6 separate regions of the Homo sapiens genome follow, and all the other regions are linked to region 2. Evidence: promoter capture Hi-C in 16 types of primary human blood cells and fetal thymus (Javierre and others, 2016). All regions are on one chromosome and are shown on one strand. Each heading gives the region's core, a stretch centred on a gene start or on the middle of the fragment in contact. The rest is flanking DNA. Distances are from core to core; before and after follow the strand shown.

Evidence for each region. The method cuts DNA at HindIII sites, captures the fragments that hold promoters and counts their contacts. A CHiCAGO score of 5 or more calls a contact.
Region 1: a contact is called between a fragment that was not itself captured here and the fragment with the promoter of APP in region 2, in 1 of 17 cell types (M2 macrophages). The highest score is 5.0, in M2 macrophages.
Region 3: a fragment that was not itself captured here is called in contact with the fragment with the promoter of APP in region 2 in 2 of 17 cell types (fetal thymus and megakaryocytes); the score reaches 7.0 in fetal thymus.
Region 4: a fragment that was not itself captured here is called in contact with the fragment with the promoter of APP in region 2 in 1 of 17 cell types (endothelial precursors); the score reaches 5.7 in endothelial precursors.
Region 5: a contact is called between a fragment that was not itself captured here and the fragment with the promoter of APP in region 2, in 3 of 17 cell types (neutrophils, fetal thymus and megakaryocytes). The highest score is 6.0, in neutrophils.
Region 6: a fragment that was not itself captured here is called in contact with the fragment with the promoter of APP in region 2 in 1 of 17 cell types (fetal thymus); the score reaches 11.7 in fetal thymus.

The regions. Positions count from the first base shown.
Region 1 is chr21:26,542,040-26,544,803 of GRCh38, reverse strand. All of the region lies in intron 2 of CYYR1 (cysteine and tyrosine rich 1), which reads left to right. All of the region lies in intron 2 of CYYR1-AS1 (CYYR1 antisense RNA 1), which reads right to left. Among named protein-coding and RNA genes, the nearest start is that of CYYR1, 30 kb to the left of the region's middle. The HindIII fragment of the contact is 6,910 bases long and covers 1-2,764 here.
Region 2 is chr21:26,169,343-26,172,128 of GRCh38, reverse strand. APP (amyloid beta precursor protein) reads left to right here and starts at 1,359. Exons shown (of 18, transcript NM_000484.4): 1 at 1,359-1,565. The coding sequence starts at 1,509. It overlaps APP-DT (APP divergent transcript), which reads right to left and starts at 1,262. Exons shown (of 4, transcript NR_186396.1): 1 at 1,077-1,262. RefSeq lists silencers at 1,007-1,836, 2,337-2,606 and enhancers at 1,624-2,148, 2,647-2,786. The HindIII fragment of the contact is 2,642 bases long and covers 874-2,786 here.
Region 3 is chr21:25,834,741-25,837,631 of GRCh38, reverse strand. No RefSeq gene overlaps it. Among named protein-coding and RNA genes, the nearest start is that of GABPA, 100 kb to the right of the region's middle. The HindIII fragment of the contact is 2,062 bases long and covers 259-2,320 here.
Region 4 is chr21:26,508,857-26,511,556 of GRCh38, reverse strand. All of the region lies in intron 2 of CYYR1 (cysteine and tyrosine rich 1), which reads left to right. The region is part of intron 2 of CYYR1-AS1 (CYYR1 antisense RNA 1); the gene reads right to left. Among named protein-coding and RNA genes, the nearest start is that of CYYR1, 63 kb to the left of the region's middle. The HindIII fragment of the contact is 2,666 bases long and covers 34-2,699 here.
Region 5 is chr21:25,852,236-25,854,935 of GRCh38, reverse strand. No RefSeq gene overlaps it. Among named protein-coding and RNA genes, the nearest start is that of GABPA, 120 kb to the right of the region's middle. The HindIII fragment of the contact is 7,481 bases long and covers 1-2,700 here.
Region 6 is chr21:25,812,802-25,815,501 of GRCh38, reverse strand. No RefSeq gene overlaps it. Among named protein-coding and RNA genes, the nearest start is that of GABPA, 79 kb to the right of the region's middle. The HindIII fragment of the contact is 8,358 bases long and covers 1-2,700 here.

The DNA of each region.
Region 1 (2,764 bases), core at 231-2,730, 370 kb before region 2:
TTTCTTATTATTTAAATATTTAAACCCATATATTCACAATTCAAAAATATAGAGATAGATGTTGTTTTTACTTACAAGATCATCCTTTAGAATTTATTTAAATAATGTTTAATAATTTTAATACAATTCTCTTTCCTCTGACATTATCATCGATCCGTGTTTCTTCAGGGTCACCAGGATGTATACCCTTCAAAAGCATCATTAGAGATGGGCCCTGACTGTAGAGTTTGTGAAATTTAGTTCTGTAAGTCAAAAGAGATTTATAAACACGGCATTCTTATGGTAGACATTTAGCTAATAAATCCTAAATCAGTTTTGATTTATAAATCCTTTTATTGCCCTTGGGATTCAGGTGACTGATTTATGAGTCAGTATGCTAAAATCTATAATTTGACCAGGCATAAATCTTATTTTACGATTTCTGTTTTAACATATGATTCATAAATCCTGGTCAGGTTCTGTGTCTGGTTTTCTAAGCGCTCTGCATTTAACAGTGAGTCTTGTTAAGTTCATATTTTAGGATTTTGACGACTAAAAGTGATTATTCGTACAGAATTCAAGTAAATAAAAACAGCAGCTGAACAGTTTTCCTGTATTCTGGTTGGTGGATTAGTAGAAGTGAGCTTTAAATTCATTAATAATCTCAAAATGTTTTAGTCTTCAGAACGGTAAAATATCGCCATTAAAATTCTTCTTCACTGTATCTGTCAGACAGTTAGAAATGGTATGTTAGTGACAACAAGTTGTCTTCTAATGTCCAATCTCCCTTATCTAATATTGATATAAATTTAATAGAGCACAATAGCTTTCCAGGGTAAGCACTACAATCCCAGCCCTCCTTGCAGCTATGTGTGACCATTTATTTTATTTTATTTATTTATTATTATTATTATTTTTTGAGATGGAGTCTCACTCTGTAGCCCAGGCTGGAGTGCAGTGCCGTGATTTCGGTTCACTGCAAACTCCGCCTCCCGGGTTCAAGCAATTCTCCTGCCTCAGCCTCCTGAGTAGCTGGGATTACAGACGTCCACAACCACACCCCCTAATTTTTGTATTTTTTAATAGAGACGGGGTTTTACCTTGTTGGTCAGGCTGGTCTCGAACTCCGGACCTCAGGTGATCCACCCGCCTCGGCCTCCCAAAGTGCTGGGATTACAGGCGTGAGCCACCACGCCCAGCTATATGTGACCATTTAACTAACTTCAGCCAATGGTGCATGAGCAGAGATGATTGTGTGCAACTTCAGTACATGCTTTGCTGAGGTGCCAAAGTAGCACAGGTCCCAGTGCGGAAGGAAAGGAGCACAGGCCCCTGACATGTGGGTGCCATTCTTTGAGCCCTGCTGCACTTAAACCTGGACAGAGAGATGAAGGAAAAAACAACCTATAATTTTTTTTTTGAAAAAGATTATTTTACTGTCTCTTTCTACATTGAATTGAATATCATAACTTTTTAAAATTTTATTTTTATTTTAAGTTCTGGGGTACATGTGCAGGTTTGTTACATAGGTAAACATGTGCCATGGTGGTTTGCTGCACCTGTCAACCCACCACTTAGGTATTAAGCCCGGCGTGCATTAGCTGTTTTTCCTACTGCTCTTCCTCCCCGCATCCACCACGCAACAGACTCCAGTGTGTGCCGTTCCCCTCCCTGTGTCCCTGTGTTCTCCTTGTTCAGCTCCTACTTCTAAGTGAGAACATGCAGACATGCAGTGTTTGGTTTTCTGTTCCTGTGTTAGTTTGCTAAGGAATTTTTAAAGACTTTAACTTGAATCTTTTTATAGCAGACAAACATTCTTTAGCTTTTCAAAAAATTGTGTTGAATATATCATTTAGGCATTGGGCTAAACATTGTGAAAATGAAGGTAAATGTGAGTCAGTCCTTGCCTTTGTTAAATTTCCTAAATAGTAATTTGCTTCTTAACACCCTAATACATGGAATTGTTATTAATTTTGTTTTCTAGTTGTTTGTTGCTGCAGAGTATGAAAATACAATTGGTGTTAGTGTATTGATCATATATAAAACAACATTGCTAAATTCACTTTGTACATCTAGTAATTACTTTATACATTGATTAGGATTTTCTATGTAAAAAAAATCTTATCTGCAAATAGAGTTTTACTTCTTTCTGATCTGTATGCCTTTTAATTCTTTTTGGTTTTTACTTTATGTCTCTGGAAATATTGACTAGAAGTTGTTGGAGTAGGTATCTTTGCCTTGTTCTGGAACATAGGAAAAAAACAATTAAGCATGATGCTAATTGTAATGTTTTTCATTGATTCTTTTTATCGGATTGAGGAAATTTCTTTCTGTTCCTAATTCGCTGAGAGTTCTGTAATGAATGGAGGTTGAATTTCATCAAACGCTTTTTGCATCTGTTGAAATGATCGCATGTTTAGGTCTCTTGTAAGGTGAAATATATTGATAAATTTTCAAAATTTAAATGATGTTTGCATTCCTGGGAAAATATATCTCTGACACACACACACACACACACACACACACACACACACGCACACACACACATATTCTCTCTCTCTCTCTTTCTCTCTCCCGCCCCGCCCCCGTCCCCCACCTTCTTATGCTGTTTATGTTGCATGGTATAATAGAATATCTTCCCAGCCCTTAAGGGAGTTTCTGTATTCAGAGGGCATCTACTTGATTTTTTTGTATTCAAAGTACCTTTCATGTAGACAACAAATAGTTCATGCTTTTTAAGTAATTCTGACAATCTCTGCCTTTTAAAATACTTCATTTCCTACTG
Region 2 (2,786 bases), core at 110-2,609:
TTATTTGTTGAGGACATCCAAAGGACATTCAGGGGCAAAAGTAATCCAAGAGTCAAGACTGAATGCCTAGTGCGGGAAAAGACACACAAGACAACATTTAGGGGAGCTGGTACAGAAATGACTTCCCAGGAAGGAAGTCTGTACCCCGCTGGCTGAGCCATCCTTCCCGGGCCTAGGCACCCTTGTCAGCGCAATGAGCAAGGGAGAGAAGGCAGGCTGCAGTGCAGCCCTCAGAAGGGCCAGAGCACTCCCTGGCTTCAGTCCTTCGCTCCAAGCCCTGTGTGGAGTGGGCTGTGGCTTGGTAACTAAATGCTACTTCAGGTCAAGAGCAGGGGATATATCTGGGCAGTTCTAGAGCATTCTAAACTATCTGGACACTAACTGGACAGTGGACGGTTTGTGTTTAATCCAGGAGAAAGTGGCATGGCAGAAGGTTCATTTCTATAATTCAGGACAGACACAATGAAGAACAAGGGCAGCGTTTGAGGTCAGAAGTCCTCATTTACGGGGGTCGAATACGAATGATCTCTCCTAATTTTTCCTTCTTCCCCAACTCAGATGGATGTTACATCCCTGCTTAACAACAAAAAAAGACCCCCCGCCCCGCAAAATCCACACTGACCACCCCCTTTAACAAAACAAAACCAAAAACAAACAAAAATATAAGAAAGAAACAAAACCCAAGCCCAGAACCCTGCTTTCAAGAAGAAGTAAATGGGTTGGCCGCTTCTTTGCCAGGTCCTGCGCCTTGCTCCTTTGGTTCGTTCTAAAGATAGAAATTCCAGGTTGCTCGTGCCTGCTTTTGACGTTGGGGGTTAAAAAATGAGGTTTTGCTGTCTCAACAAGCAAAGAAAATCCTATTTCCTTTAAGCTTCACTCGTTCTCATTCTCTTCCAGAAACGCCTGCCCCACCTCTCCAAACCGAGAGAAAAAACGAAATGCGGATAAAAACGCACCCTAGCAGCAGTCCTTTATACGACACCCCCGGGAGGCCTGCGGGGTCGGATGATTCAAGCTCACGGGGACGAGCAGGAGCGCTCTCGACTTTTCTAGAGCCTCAGCGTCCTAGGACTCACCTTTCCCTGATCCTGCACCGTCCCTCTCCTGGCCCCAGACTCTCCCTCCCACTGTTCACGAAGCCCAGGTGGGCCGTCGGCCGGGGAGCGGAGGGGGCGCGTGGGGTGCAGGCGGCGCCAAGGGCGCGTGCACCTGTGGGCGCGGGGCGCGAGGGCCCCTCCCGGCGCGAGCGGGCGCAGTTCCCCGGCGGCGCCGCTAGGGGTCTCTCTCGGGTGCCGAGCGGGGTGGGCCGGATCAGCTGACTCGCCTGGCTCTGAGCCCCGCCGCCGCGCTCGGGCTCCGTCAGTTTCCTCGGCAGCGGTAGGCGAGAGCACGCGGAGGAGCGTGCGCGGGGGCCCCGGGAGACGGCGGCGGTGGCGGCGCGGGCAGAGCAAGGACGCGGCGGATCCCACTCGCACAGCAGCGCACTCGGTGCCCCGCGCAGGGTCGCGATGCTGCCCGGTTTGGCACTGCTCCTGCTGGCCGCCTGGACGGCTCGGGCGCTGGAGGTGGGTGCCGCGCCTCGGAAGGCGGGGGGAGGCTGCACGGTGGGGACGCGATACCCCCCAAGACCTTAACCCAAGTCTTTAATGCAGAGAAGCCGGGGGTCCGTCAATGGGACCCCTCTCCTCTCCGCCCCCGCTTGCGGACGTCCAGCGCATCCCCGCTTTCGGCCCAGCCCTGCCCCAGGGAGTCGCGCTCCGGCCCGCTGAGAGGGAGCGGGCGAGGCGCTGGTCTCCCTGGTTCCGCGCCAGCCCGGGGCGAGAAGGGTAGGGGGCGACCCTGAGCCCAGACCCCGACTTAGTCCCTGCCTTGGAAGCGGGGGTCGGGGGAGGCGAGAGACATTCAGACAGGGGGGAAGGGGGAAGGAGCACGTGGGGAAAACCGAAAACGCAGCGTCCCTAAAGCCAGTCCTTCGCTCTTGAATCGTTGCCCTTTCCTTTCTCTTGGGCCCTGGGGAGGAGGAGGAGGAGTCGGGACAGCCCAGGAAGCTAGGAGCCCCTCGCTTTTCCCTGCGTTCTCCGCCTCGTTTCACCTTCCTCTCTCACCCCCATCCCCCTTCCTTGCTCCAACCTCTTTTCGCGGCTGCTGGCGGCGGCAGCCTGGGTGCGACCCTAGCCCGAGCCGGCGTCGGGGTCGCGCACCGCCTTCCACAGGCAAACTTTGTGCATGTCCGCGTCTCCCTTTTGTGTAACTTGCGAGAAATGGGAGGGGTCGGAGACCCATAGCCACCCCGCGCCTTCCCCAAGTCTGGACGTCCCGGGAGTTCGCTCGCACCCTAAGCTCTGTCTGAGAGGCAGAAGGTCCGCGGGAACAAAAGCCGCGACACCCCGCCCTCGCCGTGGGCCGAGCCGCGTTAGTCTCAGTGCGCCACCGAGGCTCCCGCCCGGCTCCCTTCCCGGGGCTGCGCGTCCGCCTGGGAGGGGGCAGAGACGCTGCCGGGGCTTCTGGCGGAGCCTCGGGGCCCCTCTGCTTCCCACCCTCGGATCACCTCCGAGGCTTAATTCTGTGCTGGGCTGTAAAGTCCTTGGCGGGGAGGAAATAAGGCGGAGAGTGGGATGTGCGTCTGGAAAGGGCAGTGGCGGATGGTGGGGAGGCACGGGCTCTGTCCTGTGCATCCAAGGAGGCGTTTGTCTGATTAAGGCGCGGCCTCTTCCCTGGCAGCTCTGGGGACTCTGGTTTAGTTCCCCTGGGGGCACAGGATGCTGGGGAGGGTCCGAAGGGTCTTT
Region 3 (2,891 bases), core at 40-2,539, 330 kb after region 2:
GATTAAGGAGATGCTCTTCTTATAGGGTATGGTATATTGCAAATGACTGTAATTCTGACTACTTCTAAGTGGTTTATGGCTGTCAACCGAGATTTCTAGTTTCCAGGCCAGACTTATCCAATTTAAAGAGAGGGAAACTGCTATATGTGCTAGACAGAGTGGGCTCATCTGCTTTCCACTACCAAGAATTTCAGCCTCTATCAAAGTGGGATTTTTTTTCTTAATTTCCCCAGAGGGATTCCAGCTTTTACCAAAGCTTGAATACATAAAAGTTATAATTCACTACTCAGCATACCATGTTCCTTCCTTGTATGCTAAATGTGGATTCTTACTGAGCTCTTCTAAATACCTATTTCTCAATAGCCTCCTGTTCTTGATTGAGTTGTGTTCCCGCAGAAAGATATGTTGAAGCCCTAACCCCCAGTTCAAGTACATGTGAATTTATTTGAAAACAGGGTCTTTGCAGATGTAACCAAGTTAAGATGAGGTCGTACTGGATTGGAATGCACACTAGTTCCAATGACTGGTGTCATGTGAAGGCCCTGTGAAGACAGGGACACAGAGACATCCAGACAGAATGCCACATGATGGAGATAGAGATTTGGAGTCAGGCATCAGCAAGCCAAGGAGCACCAAGAACTGCTGGCACTCACCAGGAGCTGGGAGAGAGGCATGGAAGAGATTCTCCCTCAGAGCCTCCAGAATGAACCAACCTTGTCAACACCTTGATTTTGGACTTCTGGCCTCTGTAACTGGGAAAGAATACATTTCTGTTGTGTGAAGCCACACAGTTTGTGGTCTTTTTTTTTTACGGCAGCCCTAGGAAACGAATACACTTTCTGCTAGGTATTGCTTCCAAATTAGATCACTGCTTTTTGCTTAAAGTGTTTTCATTTCCAGAAAAGTCCTCAGAAGAAATTATTATTGTTACTCTCAGTGAAAGTGGAGCTGTCTTATGTAATTGCTGACAAGCCAGTAAGGTGATGGATCCATACTGTTCTTATGCCCACACACACAGGGTGCAGTTGCCAGAGGCCAAAGAAAAAAAATGTGGGCCAACCACAAAGACTGATTTTTACCACATCCACAACTCTTCCAGCCTCAGATTACCAGTACACAACACATTATAAAGAGACATTTTTCACCACCATAGATTTGTGAAAGGATCATGTACCCGTGGCATACTATGGATCAAGGCCTATCGTCAATATTCACAAAAAAAAGGGTTAAGACAGTCACCAAGGCTCAAATTTCTCATTAAACTATGATATTTTAAAACAAAAGCAAGTTTGCTCCTTTCAAATTTTTTATTTACCCTAACCTGGTGCTGCTAGGACTTGGCTTGTGTGTTTACCTTGGGAAGCTCAGGGCTATACCAATCCCTCTGTTCCAAGGATCTTCTTCCAATATGTGACCTGCAGCTTGCAGGAAACACATAAAAAGAGGAACGTGTAAGGTTTTGCAAATTCTTTTTTTTTTTTTTTTTTTTTTTTTTGAGACGGAGTCTCGCTCTGTCACCCAGGCTGAAGTGCAGTGGTACTATCTCGGCTCACTGCAAGCTCCGCCTCCCGGGTTCATGCCATTCTCCTGCCTCAGCCTCCCGAGTAGCTTGGACTACAGGCACCTGCCACCATACCTGGCTAATTTTTTGTATTTTTAGTAGAGACAGGGTTTCACCGTGTTGGCCAGGATGGTCTCGATTTCCAGACCTCATGATCCACCTCCCTCAGCCTCCCAAAGTGCTGGGATTACAGGCGTGAGCCACTGCGCCTGGCCTGCAAATTCTTTAGATAGCAAATCTGCAAAATTGGAGAGAGGACTGGCTTCCACCCAGCAACGTAGGGAGTCAGGGGCTAGGCCTGCTTCAGAGCAGAGTGGGAGGGTCCATTGTTTCTATGGTGCTTTCAATTCATGTCTCAAAAGAGGACTTACTGAAAAGACAGTACCAGAGACTCAGCAAGGCACCTCTATGAACCCAGATTTGCACAACAGCGAGTCTGGAAATGGTGCCCACATAGAGTACAGAGGCCTTCCAAGTCGGCCTTGGCCTGTGTCCTCAGCAACAGTCACTCATTTCCAGTGCTGTGTGGAACATCCAACTATCTTTCCTCTTAAAAAAACAAACCAAAAAAAAGACAATTTGCTTTTGACCTAATCTGTCTTGTAGTTAGGAAATGTCTTTCCTCCTTTCAGACACTCTTTACAAAAGATAAACCCACACTCTCCCATCTCGTTTACTCTTCAATCCATGGTAATCTGGCTTTCCACAAAACTCTCAATTCATCATTACACAATGGCCCTCACCAGCATTGACAAAGCTTCCTGTCGAGGAAAAGAGTCAAACTCTGTTAAAATATTTGAAGAGATTTATTCTGAGCCAAACATGAGTGACCACGGCCCCAGGTCCTAAGAATACGTGCCCGAGGGAGTCAGTCTGCAGCTTGGCTTCATACATTTTAGGGAGACGTAAGACATCAGTCAATACATGTAAGGTGTATGTTGCAGGGGTAGAGGGGTGAAGAGGGAGGCTTCCGGTCATAGGTGAATTCAAAGATTTTTGATTGACAATTGTTTGAAAGAGTAAAGGTGGTATGTAAAGACCTGGAATCAGAAGGGAGTGTCCGGGTTAAGACAAGGGGATGTGGAGGCCAAGGTTCTTATTATGCAGGTGAAGCCTCCAGGTAGCAGGTTTCAGAGAATAGACTGTAAATGTTTCTTATCACACTTAAAAAGGTGCCAGACTCTTAGTTAATTATCTCCTGGATGAGGGAAAAGACCTGGAAAAGGAAAGTGATTCTCTACAGAATGTAGATTTTCCCCTAAGATACAGTTTTGCCGGGCCATTTCAAAATATGTCAAAGAAATATGTTTTCAGGTAAAATACTTTGATT
Region 4 (2,700 bases), core at 117-2,616, 340 kb before region 2:
TATCGATTCAGTGAACTTCTGTTGTACAAAGCTTTATCTCATTGTTGATATGCTGTCTGCATTCCAGCATATGACTATGGGCATCTATTTGTGTCTGATCTTATTGGATCCATCTTCTTTTGTTCATCACAGTAGAACTATGTGAGCCAATGACTAGGCAGGAAAATTCCATGACAAGATTCGATTAGAAAATTATCATCTAGGTTTTTATGTGTTGGTTACCCAAGTACTAACTGGTTTATCATCTTTAATAGTTTAGTCTCTGAATCTACTATTTTTAAATGAACTGTAAAGATGTTACTAATATTTAGTATGTGTGTATAACACAGATACCAGTGGCAAGAAACATCTCCAATCTAAAATAATGGGTGAAGTGTCTACTGAGGCAAATATCTGTTTACTATGTGAAATACTTCTCTATCACATATGGATACACACAAAGGGTAAACTTTCTCACAGATAATAAATGGCATGCTACAATAACGTCAGTTAGCAAGAAGTTCCCCATAGGGATAATGTGTTCATTTGGCAAGGAATTGAAACAGATAATTTGGATTCCTTCTACCCTAATGTTGTAAAAGTCTGCTGAGGAATTCCAGAAGACCCAAATCACTAGTAAAATAATAGAGAAATCCACATATTTGACTATTTTGTATTAAATGTATTTAAAAGTTTAGATTTGTTATTTATAATACTTCTTTGAATAGATAACACTGACAAATAGGATATCATTATTAATGCTAATATTTTACCATCCTCAACAAACTTGAAGTGACTAACAAAATTATTATATATAAATTCAATATCTTTTTGAAGTCTGACAACAAATGTACTTAGTACTCAAATCTATAAAATCTAATATTATCAAAAGATTTTAATATATCCTTAAATACATTCTAATGAGACTTTTCAAATAGCTGATATTTTGTCAGTATCATACCTTGTGCTAAATACACATGAATCCTTGCAACAATAGACTACATTGCACAATAGCCAATGTCCTCCAGCAACAGAACAGAAGATACCACACAAGCTGCCAGTATTGGATTCATTCACTGTTGAATGAATTTTGCTTTCGGTAATCTTAAGTGTTTGTTATACATCTGAATTTCCTTGGCATTTTCTTCATGCTCCATACATACAAAATAAACCAGTGCTGATACATAAACAGCTCCCTACCTCACTGGCTAGGTATCACAGCTGTTAAGCCAGCAGGTCTGGAAATGATAGCATTCTCTATGGCTCTAACAATGAGATAACTTTATAAATATTGATGTAAAATAGGAATGTAATTCATTTTATCTTATCTGGGCAGGTTTCCTATGCTCCATACTGCATTATTCATGTACTGGCATTTGAACGGTTGCCTACATTTGGAAATTCTGTTTACAAACTTTTATATTTGGGACTTACAAACCTTTCTGATATAAGCAGGATAAGTATTTTCCCCGATCTCATGAGTTTGAAAATAGAGTTCCAGAGCGGATACCTAAATTGAAGCCATGTGAATAGTGATTAGTTCAATGAGATCTTACATCCAGCCCTGCTGAATCCTGTTCTGTGCTCCCTACATTGCATCACACTGCATCTTAAGAAGATCATTCCAGAGTTGGTTGCTGTGTAAACCTGAGGAGTGCTCACCAATAGCCAAGTCTCCTCTCCTTCCAGAGCACTTAGAACATCATACTTCCCAGTCAGCCTTAACCCCCAGTTGGGTGAGATCATGGTACTAGCTCTGACCAATAGGCTATGAGCAGGAATGAGGTGTGTCACTTCTGGAACGAGTTGGATAAAAGCCTTCGTGAGATCCTCGGTAGCAAACATGGAAGCCATAGATTGAGATGGTGGAGCTATAGGATGAAAAATCCTGGATCACTGAGTCACTGCATAGAGGAGAGCTACCCTGGAGAGTCATCTGACTTAAGCAGGCTTTGACTGAGGAAGAAATAAACTTTTTCAGTAAAGCCACTGAGATCTGAGGGCCAGTTGTCACTGCAGCATAAGCTCAGCTTATTCTAACAAAACTAATCCACATCCTTTCTACAGCTGCTATCAGCATTATACCATTATTATCTCCTAATATATCATCTCCAGTTAAGATGTTAAAGGAAGTACAAAAACTGGTCTTTGGTTCTATGGAGAAAATAAAATAGTAAAAAGGGATAGGAAGTTATTAAGGCTTAGGTGCCACAATTTTAACTCAGTGGTCAAGAAAGAACTCACGTAAAATGTAACATTTGACCAATGACTTAACAGCATACAGATATCTGCAAGAAATACATTCTAGGAAAAAGGGAATTGTCGAGCATTTGATGTTTTAGGAGCAGCAAAGAGGTCAGTATAGCTGAATACAGTGACTGAGAGGGAGGAGTGTAAAGAGCAATGAGGTTAGAGAGACAAGGAGAACAAGGCATATCATGGAGGGGTTTGTAGGCTATTGTAAGGACTTTGCCTTTTACTCTGAGTGAAATGAGAAGCCTTTGAGTGTGATGCAGTGTAGCAATATGGTTTGATTTCTATTTTTAGAGGACTGTTTTCTAAAAGCAGATTTATGGCATTGAACAGTTATTTACAATGGAGAGTGTTGCAATATAATGTGTATTCGATCATGTGTTATTTTGAGGCATGGGCTAATCCTCACTAAACCAATGCTCGTGGTCTTAGTTCACAATGCACATTATACTGATGATAATCAAGCTT
Region 5 (2,700 bases), core at 132-2,631, 320 kb after region 2:
GAAAAAAGAAAAATATTGAAAGTCCGAAAAGTAGGTGTATTAAAATTCACAATGTTATTTTTATTTTCCATTTTTCTGAGATGAAGTCTTGCTCTGTTGCCCGGGCTGGAGTGCTGTGACACAATTTCAGCTCACAACCACCTCTGCCTCCTGAGCTCAAGCAATTCTCCCACCTCAGCATCCTGAGTCGCTGGGACTACAGACATGTGCCACCACACCCAGCTAATTTGGTATTTTTTTGTACAGACAAGGTTTGGCTATGTTGCCCAGCCTGGCCTCAACCCCTGGGCTCAAGTGATCTACCCGCCTCAGCCTCCCAAAGAGCTAGGATTACAGGCATAAGCCACTACTCCCACTACTCCCAGCCCACAGTGTTATTTTAAGTTTAATATTTTACTTATGCCAAAAGCTAATTTGTTATCACTCTGTATCAGCTTAAGCTAAGTAAAAATTATTAAAGATCATCTCTTGGACAAGAGAAATTGTCAAACACAGTAATTCTCTCAACTAAAAATGAAATTAGCAACAAAGTAGATTTTGAATATATTATTGATGAGTTTGTTTTTATTAAAACCAGTGGCCCCAGGCTCTAATGTGGCTCAGCGGGCACTGGTCTCTACTAAAATTTTGATATTTTGTTCATTATGGGTTTTTTTTCATTTAATTTTGATTTTTTAAAATATTATATTTGAATATACAGTAATTTATCCTGATTCCTTAGTATTAGTGTTCCCTTAAATTTTGTTCCTGAGGCAGATGCTTCATTGACCTCACCCTCATCTCTGTCTTTTGAAAAGATAAAACAAGAACTAACAGCCTAGTAGGAACAGGCAGCAGGCAGGAGGCACACAGGACACAAACAGGAGGTGGAAGTCCCTTCTTCCTCCCTCAGCCCTGCTGCTTCTGTCTTCCTTCCCAAGTAGAGGGAGCCTAACACGGAGCCTGCAGGCAAAGTAAAAATGCAGGTTGCAGAATCCTGGCCCCAGCATCAAAATGCCAACTATGGAAGGATAGATTTGATGCCAAAAGGTAATAGCCTCATAACTGGCACAGAGATGATTTCCCCTGAGCTGAATCCTGAAGGGTACATAGGATAATAATAATCACTTCTTGAGCACTCTTTGTAATGTTGCACAGTTAATCCATGGAAGTGTCTGAATCCAAACCTGTTTTAATCTCACCCAAAGCCCATGCTGTCAACCACTGTTCCATAGTGAAGCAGAGCAAGAACATTTTACACAAAGGAAAACAAAAGACAGCAAGACAAAGAATAGAAAAACATGGCACATGATGAAAACAAGCAGTTTAATATTAATATAACTGACATTGTAGAATATCTGTTATGTGCCTGACACTTCACTAAATGTTATTCTATGGTCTGAATGTGTTCCCCAAAGTTCATGTGTTGAAAACGTAATCTCCAATGCAGCAGTGTTGGGAGGCAGAACCTAATGAGAGGTGTTTAGGTCATGAGGGTTCCATCCTCATGAATGGATTAATGTTGTCATTGCAGGAGTGGGTTCATTATCAAGGGAGTGGTGTCTTTATAAAAGGTGAGTTCAGCACCCTTCACTTTTTCTTATTCTTGCATTCTCTCACCATGTGATGCCTTCTACCATGTTATGATGCAGCAAGAAGGTTCTCACCAGATGCAGACCCTCAGTCTTGGCCTTCCCAGCCTCCAGAACCGTGAGCCAAATAAACTTAAACTGTTTAAAAATTATTCAGTCTGTAGTATTCTATGATAGCAGCACAAAATGGACCAATGTGTGTTTTTATACAAATTATTTTTTAAATTCTTCCAACAACCCTATGAGTAGCTGCTCTTTGTATTCCCACCTGACATATGAGGAAACTAAGCCATGGAATACTATTTAAATCTTCCTGGGGTCACTCAGCTCATAGATGAAAAAACCATAATATAAACAGATGCTTTGACTCCAGAGCCCTTGCTCTCGGTCACTAGCCATACGTATCCCACAGATCATAAAATAAACATGAGGCCAAAGAGATATAGATGGGCCAGTTCATGGAGGCCATCCTGAAATGCATGGACTTTATTCTGTGTAAAAAGGGGGGCTGCTAGCACACTTTAAACAGCATCAGTTTTGTATTTTGGATGTATCACACTGGTCTGAGCCCAGTTGGGAAGACAGATTTTAAATATACAAATAGGAATTAAAGAAGCCAGTTAGAAAGCTAATGCAATGATTCAAACAAGCAAAAAGTAGAGAGTTCTGATACTAAGCGTGGAAAATAGGGGACATATTTAAAAGACTAGAGTTGTTTTATTAACACATAATAAATGTAAATATCTTCAGGGTACATGTGATAATTTGATACATTCATATAATCAAATCAAGGTAATTGAGATATCCATCACTTTGAATATTTATCATTTTTTAATGCTAAGAACATTTGAATTACTCTCTTCTTGCTAATTTGAAATGTACAATTGATTAACGTTAACCGTAGTCACCCCACTGATCTATCAAATACCAGGTGTTATTTCTTCTATCTAATTGTATATTTGTACCCATGAATCAATCAATCTTCATCTCCCCCTTCCCCCTACCTTTCCCGGCTTCTGGTAACTACCAATATACTCTCTATTTTATACAGTGCACTTTTTAGTCTCTGCACATGCAATATTTGAAAACAGAGATCTTTAACACACTAATGATTGGATGTGGATTAATG
Region 6 (2,700 bases), core at 130-2,629, 360 kb after region 2:
AAATTAATTAACATAAAAGTAACCATCTTAACCATTTTTAAGTACAGTAGGCCTTCTGTAACTGCAGGCTCCACATCCATAGATTCATCCGAATGCAGAGCAGTCAAAATATTTTTTAAAATGCAACATTAAAAAATTAATACAAATAACACAGTCTGACAACTATTTACATAGCATTTACATTGTACTGGGTATTATAAGCGATCTAAAAATGATTTAAAGTATATAGGAGGATGTGCAGAGGTTATATGCAAATACTACCATTCTATATAAGGGATTTGAGTATCCACAGATTTTGGCAATGAGCAGGATCTTGGAACCAATCTTGCACAAATATTGAGGGATGACTGTATACAGTTCGATAGCACTAAGTACATTCACATTGCTGTGCAACCAATCTCCAAAGGTCTTTTCACTTTGCAAAACTGAAACTCTGTACCCATTAAACAACTTCCCATTCTCTCTATTCCCCAGCTCCTGGCAACCATCATGCTATTTTCTGTCTTTATGAATTTGACTATTTGAGGTACCTGATATAAGTGGAATCATACAGTATTTATCTTTTTCTGACTGGCTTATTTCCCTTAGTATAATGTCCTGAATCTAGGTTCATCCATGTTGTAGCATGTGTCAGAATGTCCTTCTTTGGCTGGGCACAGTGGCTCACGCCTGTAATCCCAGCACTTTCAGAGGCCAAGGCGGGTGGATCACCTGAGGTCAGGAGTTTGAGACCAGCCTGAGCAATATGGTGAAACCCCATCTCTACTAAAAATACAAAAATTAGCCAGGCATGGTGTCATGCAACTGTAGTCCCAGCTACTCAGGAGGCTGAGACAGGAGAATTGCTTGAACCCAGGAGGTGGAGGTTGCAGTGAGCTGAGATCGAGCCACTGCACTCCAGCCTGGGCGACAGAGTGAGACTCTTTCTCAAAAAAAAAAAAAAAAAAAAAAAAAAGAAGAAGAAAGAACGTCCTTCCTTTTCTGAGGCTGAATAATATTCTATTGTATGTACATACCACATTTTGTTTATTTATCCACCAGTGGACGCTTGGGTTAGCTTCTACTTTTTGGCTATTTTAAATGATGCTGCTGTGAACATGGGTGGATAAGTATCTCATTGAGACCCTGATTGCAATTCTTTTCGATGTATAACCAGAAGGGGAGTGGTTTGATCATATGGTAATTTTATATTCAATCTTTGTTTTGAAAACAATATAGTTTTCCACAGCATCTGCACCATTTTACAATCCCACCAACAGTGAATTTCTCCAGTTCCTCCACATCCTTAGCAACAGTTGCTATTTTCAGGTTTTTTAATAGTAGTATCTCTTTGTGGTTTTCATTTGTATCTCCCTAATGATTAGTAATACTGAACATCTTTTTTGTGCTTGTTGCTCATTTGTACATCTTTAGAGAAATGTCCATTCAAATTATTTGCCCTAAGGCTAGGTGTGGTGACTTATGCCTGTAATCCCTGCACTTTGGGAGGCTGAGATGGGCAGATCATTTGAGGTCAGGAGTTCAAGACCTGCCTGGCTAACTGGTGAAACCCGCTCTCTACTAAAAATACAAAAATTACCTTAGTGTGATGGTGGTCCCCTGTAATCCCAGCTACTCAGGAGGCTGAGGCAGAAGAATCGCTTGAACCCAGGAGGCTGAGGTTGCAGTGAGCCGAGATTGCGCCATCGCACTGCAGCCTGGGTGACAAGAGTGAAACTCCATCTCAAAAAAAAAAAAAAATTCTTTGCCCGTTTTTAAAATTGGACTGTTTGGTTTTCTTTGCTGAGTTGTAGGAGTTCTTTATACTGTATATTATGGATATTAACCCCTTATTAGAAATGTGATTTGTAAGTATGTTCTCATTGTGTAAGTTGCTTTTTCCTCATTTGTTGATTTTGGCTATTCATACGCATATACAGAAGTTTTAAATTTTAATTTAGTCAAATTTATCTATTTTTACTTTTATTGCCATATCCGAGAAATAATTTTCAAACCTAACATCATGAAAATTTTCTGCTATAATTTCTTCTAAGAGTTTTATAGTTTTAGCTCTTATGTTTAGGTCTTTGATCCGCTTTGAGTTAACTTTTGTGTACGTTGTAAAGTAAGGGACCAATTTCATTGTCATGCATGTGGACATCCAGTTTTTCCAGTACCATTTGTTTAAAAGACTGCCCTTTTCCCATTGAATGATCTTAGCAACCTTGTCAAAAATTATTTGACCATATGTGACAGGGGTTATTTCCGTTTTTTCTATTCCATTCCACTAGTCTCTATGGTCTGTCTCCATGCCAGTTTTGTTTTGATTATTGCAGCTTTGCGTACCATACTATTTTCACTCCCACCAATAATACCTGAAAGTCCCAGTTACTCCACATTCTCACCAAAACTGGCACTGTCAGTCTTTTTAATTTTGGCCATTCTCGCAGAGGTAGGATGTGTAGTGGTATCTTAATAGGGCTTTAATCTCCATTTTCTGATGCCTAAATAAATATGAGCATCTTCTTATGGTAATATTAGCCTTATTAATTAATTTATTTATTCAGAGACGGAGTCTCGCTCTGTCGTCTAGGCTGGAGTGCAGTGGTGCGATCTCGGCTCACTGCAAGCTCCGCCTCCCGGGTTCACGCCATTCTCCCGCCTCAGCCTCTTGAGTAGCTGGGACTACAGGCGCCCGCCACCACGCCCGGCTAATTTTTT